Linked DNA regions of Homo sapiens: region 2 is linked to region 1. The links are contacts of gene promoters, found by promoter capture Hi-C in blood cells and fetal thymus (Javierre and others, 2016). All regions are on one chromosome and are shown on one strand. Each heading gives the region's core, a stretch centred on a gene start or on the middle of the fragment in contact. The rest is flanking DNA. Distances are from core to core; before and after follow the strand shown.

Region 1 (6,782 bases), core at 2,942-5,441:
GCTGGGGGAGTTGGAGGACAACCCACACTATACTAAAGATGCATAGGCTTCACAGCAAAGATCAGCATAGCTTTATCTCAGTATCTCCCAATGACCCCTGGCCTGGTCACGCCATCAGCACTCCCAGTTCCTTTTCCTTTCTCTGCATGAAGTGTTTCATCTCCATTGGCTAGCCAGATCCTCCTGGTTCTTCCCCTCTGTAAAATGGGGCAAATCTACCACGCCTCCATACCCACTCTGTCTGGAGCATGCGGGAGACCAGGCCCCAGAGGCGTGAGCTCCTGGGAAGAAGGCTGTGTGGAAGGGGACAGGTACAGGAGCTGTGCCACTGAACTCTACGGAGGTATAGTGTCTGGAAGCTCAGGTACGGGGCGGCCAGACACACACAAAGCTGTAGTGTGATTTTCCCTGCAGGATATCTCGGCCTAGCTGTGGCCAGGGCCTGGTACCAATGACCTCTCAGGGCTTTGGATGCACCAGGTCAAACCAGCCAACCACCTGCCTCCAATCAGGAATGCACGCCCCATCCCAGGCAGAGAGACAAGGGAGTTCCACAATTTCTTCCTTGATGAATGATTCCTATCTACCACAATTTTCATTCAATGCATCAAATCAACCAATGATTATTTAAAAACAGCAGCTACAAAAACTCTGCAAAGCGGGTGGGAATTTCCTGCTTGGGTCTAGCCTCCGTGTTTCCCGCGCACAGCCCGGTCTTTACCCTGGATGCTTCCGAACCGGCATCATCTGGCATCTCCGACAGTCTTGATGCGACTTAACGCATGGTAAGAACCCATCAGAGAAGGCCAAAGGGATTTCCAGAGACAGGTAGAGGCACTGCGCTGGGCAGCACCAGGGAGGAATATTATCTTTTCAAGCAGCTGGACTCTGACCTAGAAGCCGGAACTCCTGAGTACTGAGGTCAGCACCTCTCTCACACACCCCCAGCTATAAGCTTGAAGGAAGCCCCTCCCCTTCTCTGGGCCTTGATTTCCCCTCCTGCTCAGTGGGGACGTTCTTGGTCCTCCTTCTTGCCCACTCTACCCAGTCGCCGAGTCTGGCGAAGCAGAGCTGTCTGGGGGTCACCGCAGCAGGAGGGACCGAGCTTAGATACGAAAAAAGACTTCTACACGGCAAGAGCCACAGAAAGGACGCTCCAGCTGGCTCAGCAGAGGGGCATCTCTCCCTTTCAAGAACAAAAGGTGGCAGGTACCCGGGGGCCCTGGGGCAGAACGAGGTAAATTCTGCACGGACTTCCACATCTAAGACCCCAGAAATCTCCAGCCGGCTCCCTCCGACCGTGAGTGCGTAAAACCCGGGAGCAGCAGGAGGGGAGGGCGGGGGTGCAGCTGGCCCCCCTGGGGTGTCCCCTCAGTCCCTGCGCCCCCGACCCTCGCCGGGCCAGCCTGGGGAAAGCCTTTCCGCCTCCGTGCGCTGCCCCGACTCCTACGTGGGGAGGGAACGTGGAGTCGGGATCTCGGCGGCGTGGGCGGGCCGGCTGGCAGCCGGCAGGCGAGAAGGAATCTCCCGGCCCACGCGCCCCCTCCCAGCGTCCAGCCTCGCACTTCCTCGCGGGGGCGGCGGCGAGGACCTGCACCCCGGCGCGGGGAAGCCGCGTGCCCACAGCCTCCGCGCGCCCCCGCCGCCCCGCTGAGGAAGGCGGCTGCTGAGTCACCCGCGAAGGGAAGCGCGGCCCGGGCGCCCCCGCCTCCCCGCGCCCCAACCCCCGCGCACAGCCGCCCGCCCACGGTGTCTGGGGCCTCCCGGCGCAGGGCGCCGCCTCCTCCCGCGTTCCCGGCCCGAGGGGGCTCGGAAGGGGCTTCGGCGCTGCGGCACCGCCCGCCGCCAGCCCGGGGAGCATCGGGGCCGCGGCCTTCGGGCCGGGTGCTGGGTGCTGGGTGCGCGCCCCTCCTCGGCCTCCACGGGCCGCAGCCGGGGCTAGTGTGATGGTGCGAGTAGATTGCCTTGGAGAAGAAGGGGACATTGAGGCGGGGGCGGCTAGGAGGGGTCGGGGATGAGGACGGTGACACCGAGGTACAAATTCTACTCAGCATCCACCTTTCCTGTCTTCCTTGTACCCAAGACACCTCAGCAAAAAAAAAAAATAAATTTAAAACTCCCAGCCTTATCTTGGCCTTCTCATGTTTATGTTTGTGTTTTATCGCATCACAGTCTTAGAATTCCCAGGGCTGTAGGTCTCCTCAGCCTACGGTGCGGCATAATAGTTCTGAGCAGGGCCCTGGGTTTGAATCTCGACTCAGTCGTTCACTAGCTGTGTGATCTCAAGCAATGAGAGCCTCGCGTTTCCCGTTCGTAAAATAAGGAATACGAATGGTACCACCCTCCTGGGATTGCTGGGAAAATTCAGGGGTGATGCCAGTAAAGCGTCAGGCAAGCCGAGTGCCTGGCACGCAGTGAGGGCTCGACGCGGGGTGGTTGCTGTCACTTTGGGACCCTTCCAGTGGCAGAAGGTGCTCTTTGAAGGTGAGAGGCCTCACCACCCCCCACCCTGACCCCGGCATCTTCTAAGGGGCTCTGAACAGGACTCCTTCCCTGTTTGACTTCACACCCTTTCAAATATTTGAAGGCAGATAGCCATCCTTCCCTTCCCTTGCCTTCCAGTCCACTGACACCCCTCCGCCATCTACTTTCAGGAGAACATACCTGATCCTGGCACTTCCTGCTCCTCATGGTTCTGCGGGTGGCCCTGCCTCACCTGGGTTACTGCTCTCCGAGAACACAGAGGGAGCTGGGAGTGAGCCCTGCAGCGCAGGGGCTGTGGCCAGACCAGCTTTGGGCACAGGGAGGCCCTCCCTCACCCCCCGCCTAGCTTTGGATGGTGGCTAGGGACCCACTGGCTTTCTCAGCCCCAGCCACAGATGGGACCTATCACACATGAGGTCAGCTAAAGCCTCAGGGCTCTTTCACTTGAAGGACTCTGGCTTCTGGCCACCTGTACTTGTACAGGTGGCTTTTAACATACACACAAAATTGCTAATGTAATTTGCTTTTAATGTAATTCACCTTTTCCTTTCTTTAAGAGATGGTGACTCTGTCACCCAGGCTGGAGTACAGTGGCACAATCATTGCTCTCTGCAGCCTCGAACTCCTGCGCTCAAGTGATCCTCCCACCTCAGCCTCCCAGGTAGCTAGGACTACAGGCATGCATCACGACACCTGACTAATTTTCTTTGTTTTTGTAGAGACGGAGGCCTCCCTATGTTGCCCAGGCTGGTCTCGAACTCCTGGCCTCAAGCAATCTTCCCAATTCAGCCTCCAGAGTAGCTTGATTTACTCTTTTCAAATAGACAATACATTGACCTAGTACAAGATTCAAAAGAAAAGAGTTTACAGTGAAAAGCATCGCCCCCATCCTTGTTTCCTAACCACTCGAATTCCTGCCCGCCCCCACACCTTCCAGCAACCACTATTATTTCTCACGTCTTTCCAGCTATATGTACATTTAAGCAAAATGTTTATTTCTTTTTACAGAGATACTAGTATCCTATATGCTGTTCTGCACCTTGAGTTTTGTTCCCTAATAATGTATCTTAGTGATCTTTCCTTATTAAATATAAAAAGAGCTGCCGCGTTCTTTTTTAATAGCCGCAAAATATTCCACTGTATGGCTGTGAAGCTAGGTCCTTTCTGCTGTCTGCTGAGAGTTTTGGAAGGCAAGTAATTATTTAAGGTGGGCTTTCTGAGGGCCAGAGAGGGGAGGAAGCAGGTATGATTGAGCAGCTGCATTTGAACTTGCCTCTCTGGCTGACGTGCTGCTGCAGCCTCCTGCAGACATGGGTCAGTTGCAGCAGAAATACGATTCGGCAAGTGCTTCTCCGTCTGAAAACTCCAGCTTGGTTCACTTTTGCTCCCCGGGGCTCCCTTTGTTGTCAGCAGTTATCAAGTTTGGGGGAGCCATCAGGGTGTTAGCATCTGGCTCTAAACCAGCTGAAGGTGAGTCCTACAACCCCAGCAGTTTCAGGAAGCCTTCCTGAACCGATCTGATAAATAAATAGATGTTCTTATAGCCTCACTCCTTACTTTTCACCCCAGGCTGAGCACACACCAGTCCTTGCTAAGAACAAAATTAGTTCTTTATTCTTGTGGCTTAGAAAAGCTTGTTTTCTTCTTTCTGTAAGTATATATTTTCCTGGCATCTGTATTCTTCCTTTCACTTAACAAATATTTATTATCTGCTGTGTGCCAGTTACTATTCTAGGCCCTGGGGTATAGCAGTGAACAAAAAAACTCCCAAATTCCTTTATGAAGCTTACAGACAAACAAGATCACTAATGAAAACTTATAGTGCATCTGATGGGATAAGAGCCCTGGAGAAAAAGCAGAGAAGAGACCCGGAATAAAGGAATCTGCACTTTCAAACTGGGTGCCCTGGGGAGACAGCACCTGAGCAAAGTCCTGGAGGAGGGGAGGGAGGGAGTTCTGTGGCTGTCTGGGGACGGGCATTCCTGGCAGGACAAACAGCTAGCATAGAGGCCAAGGGTGGGACCCTGCCAGGTTGTTCAAGTAAGACAAGGGCCGAGAGCACAGGGAGAGGCGCCTGAGGCCAAGTCAGAGAGATTGTTGGGGCATGGGAGGGTAGGAGGGTGCAGGCGCGTAGCAGATCTTGTAAGAGATTCTCAACTGGGATTTCCAGGTCCACCAGGGAGCATTTGGAATGTGTGGGCACATTTTAGTTGTCACAAATGCTGATGGGGCTTGGATGAGGAAGGTTGTTGTTCTGTGGCATGCAGTGGGTAAGGGCCATGTCAAACATCCTGCAGTGTGTGGGACAGACCACACAGTGAAGAATTTTCCTGCCAGAAATGCCCCTGTTTCTTGTTGTTGAGGGCATTGGAGTCCGTTAGGAAGTGTTTGGCTTTTACCTTCAGAAAAACTAGGAACCAGTGGATGACTTTGAGCAGAGGGTGCTTAAAAGGAACTTTGGATGCTGGTTTGAGAATAGACTGAAGAGGGAAGAAAGGCAGAAGCAGGGAGTTCAGGTAGAAGGTTGTTACACAGCCCAGGTAAGAGATGCTAGTAGCTTGGACCAGGGTAGTAGCAATGAAAGTATGATCTGCAGCCAAGACAACAGTACTTCCTGAGGGATCAGTGTGGGATGTGAGACAAAGAGGAGTTGAGGATGAGCTCAAGGTTTGGGGCCAAAGTTATTAGAAGGATGGGATGGAGAAGTCCATGGGGGATGAGGAGGTTTGAGCATTTGACGGATGGCGTTTGAGACAGCTCTTAGATGTTTGAGAGGAGATGTGCAGTAGGCATTTGGAATGGGCTGGAGGTATAACTTTGGGATGCTTTTAAAGCCTTGAGACTGGGCCACGCCACCAAGGAGTGAGAACAGAAGATGAAAGAGGCCTAGGGCAGATTTGCAATGCACACAACACTAAAAGGTGGGCATGGGAGCTGAGAAGGAGCACCCAGAGGGAGGAGAACAGCCAGGAGAAGCACCTAGTGTTCTGGCAAAGAGCGTTTCAAAGGCTGCTGAAACGTGGAGGATGCAGACTGAGAACTGTCCATTAGCTTTAGCAACATTCAGGTAATTGGTGACCTTGAAAAGCATAGTCTTGGGAGTGGATTTGGAGGCTTGATTAGTGGGTTTGAGAGAGAAGGGAGGAGAGACTTTAGAGACAAATCAACCAAATAGAACATGTGGACCTTTGATCCGGCTTGATTTAGACAAAGCCATTGGAACTAGACATTTTTAAGACAGTCGGGGAATTTGAACGTAGATGAAGTATTAGGTGATGTTAGAAAATTGTTAATTTAGTTAGGTATGATTATGGTACTCATATCTTTTTAAAGTTCTTACCTATTAGAGGGATACATTGTGGGTGAAATGATATTTCTGGGGCTTGCTTTATAACACTGTAGCAAAAAAGTTGGGAAGTAGAAGACTGGCAAAATATATGTTTGACATTTCCCTAATAAAATGTGTAAAAGATGCCAGAATGGGAGGAATTGTAGAAAGTTCTGATGAGTTTTGCTATAAAGAGAAGCAAAGAAATGGGGTGACCGCTGAAGGGACGAAGCGGGTTCAAGACAAAGGATTGTTCTTTAAGATGGGAGAAGTCATAGCATGTTTGTTTCAGCAGCATGTCAGCTAACTACACATGCTGACCGTCCACCGCAGCAAAGGCCCTGTCCTAACTCCTGTAGGGAAACTGAGAATGACTACATCACTCCTGGAGGAAAGTCATCATTTAATGAAAGCTGACATTGACCATGCACTTACTATGAGTGAGGCACGGTGTTAAGCACTTTACAAACTTTCTCTCGATGTGTCCTAATAACACCTTCCCGAGCTAGGCTCCATTCTGTATTCCAAGCAACGTGAGGTTGCTTGTGCAGATTCACACTCAGCCAGTGTGACCCTGGCAGGCAGTGCTCCTAGCCTCTACTCTCCATGGCCACCCCGCAGACAACTACAGTAACATGCATCCAAATCTCCAGGAGAAGTTTTTTCCAAATCCACGTGGCCCAGCCTCAGCACTGGAGACTGTTGTTCAGCAGGGGATAGGGGAAAGAAGACAGCCACAAATGCTTGCAGTGAGGCTCTCAGGAGGTTCTGACGCAGTTCCCTGCTGGAAAACCATCAGGATATATCAGCCTGGGCACACTCACTTATCGTCGCATACACCAGGGTTCACACCGGTGCTGTGGGTAATTAGGCTGGCTGAGGCTAGGGAAAAAATTAAAATGTGATGAGCTGGGCTGTACAGGAGAAAGGAGAGGAGGGCAGCTGAGCGTGGCATTGTCATTTAGGGATG
Region 2 (6,662 bases), core at 3,185-5,684, 69 kb after region 1:
CCAAGAAGGAATGTATTCTTACCAGGCCTTATCAAATGACAATAATAGAAGGCATTCTGAGCTCAAAGAGCCACACCCATTCCAGTGTTTACCTGCAAAGGTTTCGCTTTTGGTTTTTTTGAGACAGAGTCTTGCTCTGTTGCCTGGAGTGCAGTGGTGCAACCATGGCTCACTGCAGCCTTAAATTCCCAGGCTCAAGAGAACCCCTCACCTCAGCCTCCTGAAGAGCTGAAACCACTGGCATGTGCCACCACACCTGGCTAATTGTTAAATATTTTTGTAGCGATGGGGGTCTCACTGTGTTGCCCAGCTGGTCTCAAACTCCTGGCCTCACACAGTGCTCCCACCTCAGCCTCCCAAAATGCTGGAATTACAGGCATGAATCACTAGGCCCAGCCTGTTTGTTTTTAGAGAAGAAATCAGCCTCAGTTTCCTCATTAGTAAAATGCTGGTAAGAGTACCTGTCTCATATGAATCAAACGTTTTCAATGTACATGAAGTGCCTGATGCTTAGTAAGTTATCTGTAAATGTTAGCTCTTTCTTTTCTTTTTCTATTAGAGACAGGATCTCTCTTTGTCACCAGGGCTACTGGGCAGTGGCATGATCAAAGCTCGCTGCAACTTGAACTCCCGGGCCCAAGTGCTCCTCCTACCTCGGCCTCCTGAGTAGCTGGGACTACAGGCTAAATGTTAGCTATTTCATTATTATCTTTTCTACTTAAAAGCACAGACATTAGAACCCTCCACTCCCCGCCATCCCATTCCCCGCGCACAAGGAAACCTCCTCAAACATGACTCAAACTCAGGTCTACTAGGCAGACAATGAGAACTTGCTGGAACTTGCTGGGCTTTGCTGGGAAGGGGGTCAGCTCAATCTGGGGAGCATCCTGCAGCCTGAGGAAGCCCGGTCCAGAAGCTGAGAGTCACGCGGTGGCAGGCCAGCGGCAGGAGCCAGACAGCAGCCAGAGCTAGGGCCCTCTAGGGCTGGAAGCCTCTCCCTCTCGGTTTTCACATGGCTGGGGAATTTGGCTCTGCTCTATTTCCTTTCTGAAATGTTCGCTTCAGCAGGTTTAAAGTCCAGCGGATGGGGAACGTTCCATGCTGGCTGTGAGCGGCCTCTTTCTGGCCTGGATGATTTTTTCTGGTGTGAATCCCATGCACGTGGAGAGCATTGGTGTCTACCATCTCCATGAAATGCAGGAAGGCAGCTTCTGGGTTGAGCTGCCGGAAGAAAGCTTCCTGGGTGTTCCTTCCCTCCACTGCGTCTGCTCCATCCTTTGTTAAATTCCAAGACATATCAGGGTTTGACGTTTGGGTCAGATTTCATTATTTTATTTCCATGGAAATATGTTGGCCAGAGTATAACAGATTTGTTCTTCTTAGAGGACGTTTAGAAATGAAGACAGATTGTCTGTCAAATTCAACAGTCTGGAAGGCTCTGGCCTTTCATTGCTAGGAAGAAATCATTTGAGAATGTCCTGCCCACATTGCTGTGTATAATCTCAGTTACCTTATTCCTGAGGAATTCCCATGAGGAAGGGGAGAGCAGGCTGGGGCCCAGGCAGACCTTATGTGTCCGGAGGAGATAAAAAGAGGCCCAGGCAGGGATTGTGGCTCACACCTGTGGTCGCAGCACTTTGGGAGGCCAAGGCATCAGAATCACTTGAACCTAGGAGGTTAGGGCTACTGTGAGCTCTTACGGCACCACTGCACTCCAGCCTGGGCAAAAGAGACCTCATCTCTACAAAAAAATTTTTTTTAAGTAGCCAGGTGTGGTGGCGGGCACCTGTGGTCCCAGCTACTCGGGAGGCCAAGGCAGGGGAATCACTTGAGCCCAGGAGATGGAAACTGCAGTGAGTTGTGACCGTGCCACTGCACTCTAGCCTGGAAGCCTGGACAACAGAGTGGGAGCCTGTCTCAAAAAAGAAGAAAGAAAGAGAGAAAGAGAGAGAGAGAGGAGAGTGGGAGGAAGGGAGGGAGGGAGGGAGGAGGAAGAAAGAGAGAGATAGATAGAGAGAGACAGAGACCCAGTGCAGGCAGGCAGGAATAGAAGAGTTAGGGTCATTTCCACTGCTTTGGAAACGGTACACTGCCAGCACCAGAAGGCTGGAAGGAGAACATCTTCAAAAGTGGTGTCTTTGGGGTTATGGCCTTGACCCTTCACCTCTCCACTCTCTCCTGCCCCACTCCCACCACAGATAGACAAGGGATTCTCCTGAACAGTCAACAGTTGTGAGAGTTTAAGACCTACTTACTTCTGTAGCTGGAGACCTTGGGACCTTCAGTCCAGGATTGAGACTCCCTTTGGCTTCGTCACTTTGGCATATAAATTGGACTTTTATATAAAAATGGACCTACCTGCCACCCAGTCCTCCCCTGACTACTCAGGCCTTTGCTCTGGAGGAGTCAGTCTCCTCTGTGTGATAGCTGTGGCTGCAACAGGCCACTCGGACGTGGGCCTTCTAGAAGGGTCTTCCGGGGTGTCACTGTCTCCAGGGCAGGGCTGTCATATCTCCAGGAGGGCCGTTTGTGACCAAGCAGGCCGTGAAATATTATGCCAGCTCACACAGATCAGCATGTGCTGTGTGCCACAGGTGCTGTTCTGAGAGGCTTACATGCAAAACCTCGTTCCATCTTCACAGCGACTCCGGGAGGGACGTGCTGCTAATCTGTACCCAATGAAGGCACTGAGGAACAGAGAGGTTGGGGAGCTTGCCCACAGTCACAGAGCTGATCAGTGGCTGAGGTCTGAAGCCAGGCACAATGACTCATCACCTGAGCCCTTAACCCTGCACCATCCAGCCTCCGTGCGTCATTCCAGGACCCCTGTGGTCCGGTTGCTCTCACAGTCCTTGTCAGTCCCCCATCATGAATCATGACACTGAAGACCCCTTAGACAATCAGCTGGTCCAGCCCTCTCATTTTACCCTGGCAGAAACTGAGGCCCTGGGGAAAAGAAATGACTAGTCTCCTGGCCAGCGGCAGAGAAATTGAACAAAATCAGGTACTCTCCCACCTCTTACCTTGGCGTTATTTGCTATGCCCCGATCCTCTCAATTTGGGAAGAAAGCACAGCTGAGAAACTGATTCGTAAGTCTCAAGAGGTCTGAGCCAGATTTAGCTTCCTCTCTCTGGTGCATGTATATCTTAAAGGGCCGACGGATGGCTGTCTAATGATACAATTCCAGGCAGAATTAGTCGGTGGGGCAGGGAGGGGTCCTGTCCACTGACAGGCGGGTCAGCCCACACCTAATGAAAATGATCATGTATTAAGCCCTGTTGTATACCAGGAACTTCACACCCACTGCCTCCTTTAACACTCATAACACCCCTGCCCAGTAGATGTTCTCAGTGTTGTCTCCATTCTCAAGGTGAGGAAATGAGCCACCAAGAGGCTCCATGACTTGAAGTAACAGCTCCACGGCCTTTTCTTAATCCACCCACTGTTATTGGCATAGAGCAGTGCTTCCAAAAGGTGGTCCCTGGACCAGCAGCGTCAGCTTCACCTGGAAGCTTGTTAGCAATGCAAACTCTCAGTTCCCGCTCCAGGCCCACTGAATCAGACTCTGCGGCTCGGGGCCCAGCAATCCGTGCACTAATAAACCCGCCACGCAATTCCAATGCATCACTCAGTTTGAGACCCACCAGCAAACAGGGATGCTGCCGAGCCCAGCAAAAGAAAAATCAGCTCAGGGCTTCTAAATTGTAAGGGTAGTTTGAACTTAGTTCTTTGGGTACCTGAGTCTCAAGGTGTGAGTGGCAGCCAGCCCTACCCAGGCCCCCTCAAAAGAGAGTTTCTTCGTCCTCATGACATCACCAGGAACACTGGCAGATCCTGCATCAGCTTCCTTCTCTTCTATTTTCTTAGCCGCATCGCACTTTGCCAAAACGCCTTGACCTTTGTTGAGCATGTTATGAATTCTGACGAATAAAATAACTCTCTGGAGGATGGGGATATTTTTAATTGAATTGTAGAAGCCAACAACTGCCAAATAAAGCCAGGGTTTCTACATTCCGTGGCAATAGGTGGTTTAGATTTCCTTCCTAATCCTGAAACCTGGGCTTAGTCTCAGCCAGGAGCACGAGCTAGGGCTTCACCTTCCAGATCTTCGCCGTCTCTTCCAGCCAATTAAAAATCCCTGCTGCTACCATTACCTATTTTCAGCTCCCAACCAGTTCCTTTGTCTGCCAGACACTGTCTTGCTATCATTAAAAAAAAAAAAGAAGGTTGAGATGATGAAATTCATTTTGATCACAGGCGTGTAGGACGCTTCATTTCCCTGCAACACAAACTGATTCCACGCACAGATCAATGTTAACAAGCAATTTTATGCAAGATTGTACCTGTTTCTTCAGAGGCAGGGAACATACATCCTTTTTCCCCAACGCTTGTGAGGTATTTGCTGCAGACCTTGCAGAAGCTCACAGGAAAGAGGGGGAGGCCTTAGCAAAACCGGTACCACTCGTGATCCACGCGCCCGTCAGCAGCACCTCCTGAGACAGGTCCGGTCATGCCTGGCTGGAAGCGGTCTAATCGGTGCCCATTGCTCTAGTTCTCAGCACTCACTCACTTGCATGTGCAGTGGGAGGAAGGGGGCCTATGCCCTCCACACTGCCTCACTGCCTGGAGTCTGGAAGCCTCGGGGCCATTTGCAAGTCCATCACAGGTCTCGGTGTCAGCTCCAGATAATCTTGGCAGCAAAGCAGGCTGAGTAATCCTGGGCCGTTGGGTAGAACTTCCAAAGGCACAGGCCACTGAGGCTCCTTCTCCAGCTGCCGGCATGCAGTCATTCCTGGTCATCTCTCACTCACTCATTCATTCATCCCACAAAACAGTGATTGGGTGCCCATACACCAGGGAGGCAGAGATTAAAATAACTGCCCTATCTTGAAGGAGCCCGTAGCCTCGTGGGGAAGACAGGCAGGCAAATGTTATGACACAGGGAGATAAACGCAATGGTCGACAGAAGGTGGGTTCCGGGGACAACGGAGGTCAGGGAAGACTCCTAGAGAGGATGAGAGCTAAACAGAGACCTGCAGGGTTGGGGCTGGGCAGCAGGAAGAAATAACAGCATGCACCAAAGTGGGGGCGTGAGAGCCAGGCTGCAGGGGGGGACCATGCTGGGGAAGCGGCGAGAGAAGCTGGAAGCAGACAGGGCGTCTTTGCTTTGCTGAGAAACTTGGGTTTCACACTAGGGATGTGGGGAGCCCTGGGAGAAATGTGAGCAGGGACATGAGCTATGATGCCAAGTTAGCAGCCTAGAAGGATGGCTCTGAAGATGGTTTGGAGGCAGGGAGACTGGTGAGAAGGCTACTGCTGTTAACAGCCATGATGAGAAAGGATGAAGCCCTAAACTGCGGCTGTGGGCATGGGGAGGGGAGAAGTTGGCAGAGCCCAGGGCCGTGGAGAAGCAGCAGGGCCATGGCCCACGTGGGAGGGAGCCAGGCAGCCAGCGCACAGCCAGTGGTCTCCGAGCTGATGAGAATTCAGAATACGCGTGTGCTTCAGGCCCCCTGTGTTGGTACTCCATCTACCAAATAAACACGTACAGATTTTCCATTTCAGAGGCAGGGAGATGCTGGATTCAGGGACATTTCATCTGAAGAATCTATCAAACTAGACATTGTCAAATATTTACTCAAGCAAGTTAGACTGTTAGCTAGCTAGAGCCACTGGAATGGGGGCAGCCACTAGCATGGGGGCAGCCACCTGGACAGTGGTTGTTGAGAGGGGGATAGGGCCCAGTTTCAGGTCAGTGAGGAGGGGCAGCTGCAATGGATGAGGGGCTCCTCCAGAGGAAAGAGTCCACCTGGGGAGGGAGGGTGATGGAAGCCAAGAAGACGGTGTTTCCAGAAGGGAGCAATTAACCATGTCGATGCTGCCAAGGGGCTGGGATGAGGACAGAGATAGGCCGTTGGATTTGGCCACATAGCAACCAGCAATGGCCGTGACAAGAGAAGTGTTAATGGTGCCTGGGGTTGGATGCTTGAGTGGAGCAGGTTGAAGAGTGAATGGAGAAGAGGAAGTGGAGGCAGCAAAGAGGAGAGAAGAGAGGCAGTGTCTAGAGAGCAACGAGGGCTCAAGGCAGGGTTCTGATTTGTAAGATGAAAAAGACAAGCACTTGGGTGCTCCTGAGGATGATTCAGTAGAGGGGAGGCGTGGTAGCTATCTGAAAGAACACCTCAAACTTCGTGTGCCCCAAGATGGAGACTCCGTCTCTCCAGCATGTGTCTGCACCATGATACACTCACACTAGAGAACGGTACCTCCAGGCCCCTGGGTGCTCCTGAGATGATTCAGTAGAGGGGAGGCACGGTAGCTATCTGAAAGAACACCTCAAACTTCGTGTGCCCCAAGATGGAGACTCCGTCTCTCCTCCAGCGTGTGTCTGCACCATGATACACTCACACTAGAGAATGGTACCTCCAGGCCCCTGGGTTCTCCTGAGATGATTCAGTAGAGGGGAGGCACGGTAGCTATCTGAAAGAACACCTCAGACTTCGTGTGCCCCAAGATGGAGACTCCGTCTCTCCTCCAGCGTGTGTCTGCACCATGATACACTCACACTAGAGAACGGTACCTCCAGGCCCCTGGGTGCTCCAGCCAGAGCTCCAGGATGCACCAGTGATGCCTCCCTTTCCTCACTTCCCACATTCCCTGC

What was found. Contacts are between HindIII fragments. The CHiCAGO score rates a contact against its expected background, and 5 or more counts as called.
Region 2: a contact is called between the fragment with the promoter of IQSEC3-AS3 here and a fragment that was not itself captured in region 1, in 4 of 17 cell types (M1 macrophages, megakaryocytes, M0 macrophages and 1 more). The highest score is 9.2, in M1 macrophages.

The regions. Positions count from the first base shown.
Region 1 is chr12:76,413-83,194 of GRCh38, forward strand. All of the region lies in intron 1 of IQSEC3 (IQ motif and Sec7 domain ArfGEF 3), which reads left to right. Among named protein-coding and RNA genes, the nearest start is that of IQSEC3, 13 kb to the left of the region's middle. The HindIII fragment of the contact is 152 bases long and covers 4,116-4,267 here.
Region 2 is chr12:144,735-151,396 of GRCh38, forward strand. It overlaps IQSEC3-AS3 (IQSEC3 antisense RNA 3), which reads right to left and starts at 4,435. Exons shown (of 10, transcript NR_033859.2): 1 at 4,345-4,435. The region is part of intron 5 of IQSEC3 (IQ motif and Sec7 domain ArfGEF 3); the gene reads left to right. RefSeq lists enhancers at 431-932, 933-1,432. The HindIII fragment of the contact is 4,344 bases long and covers 3,512-6,662 here.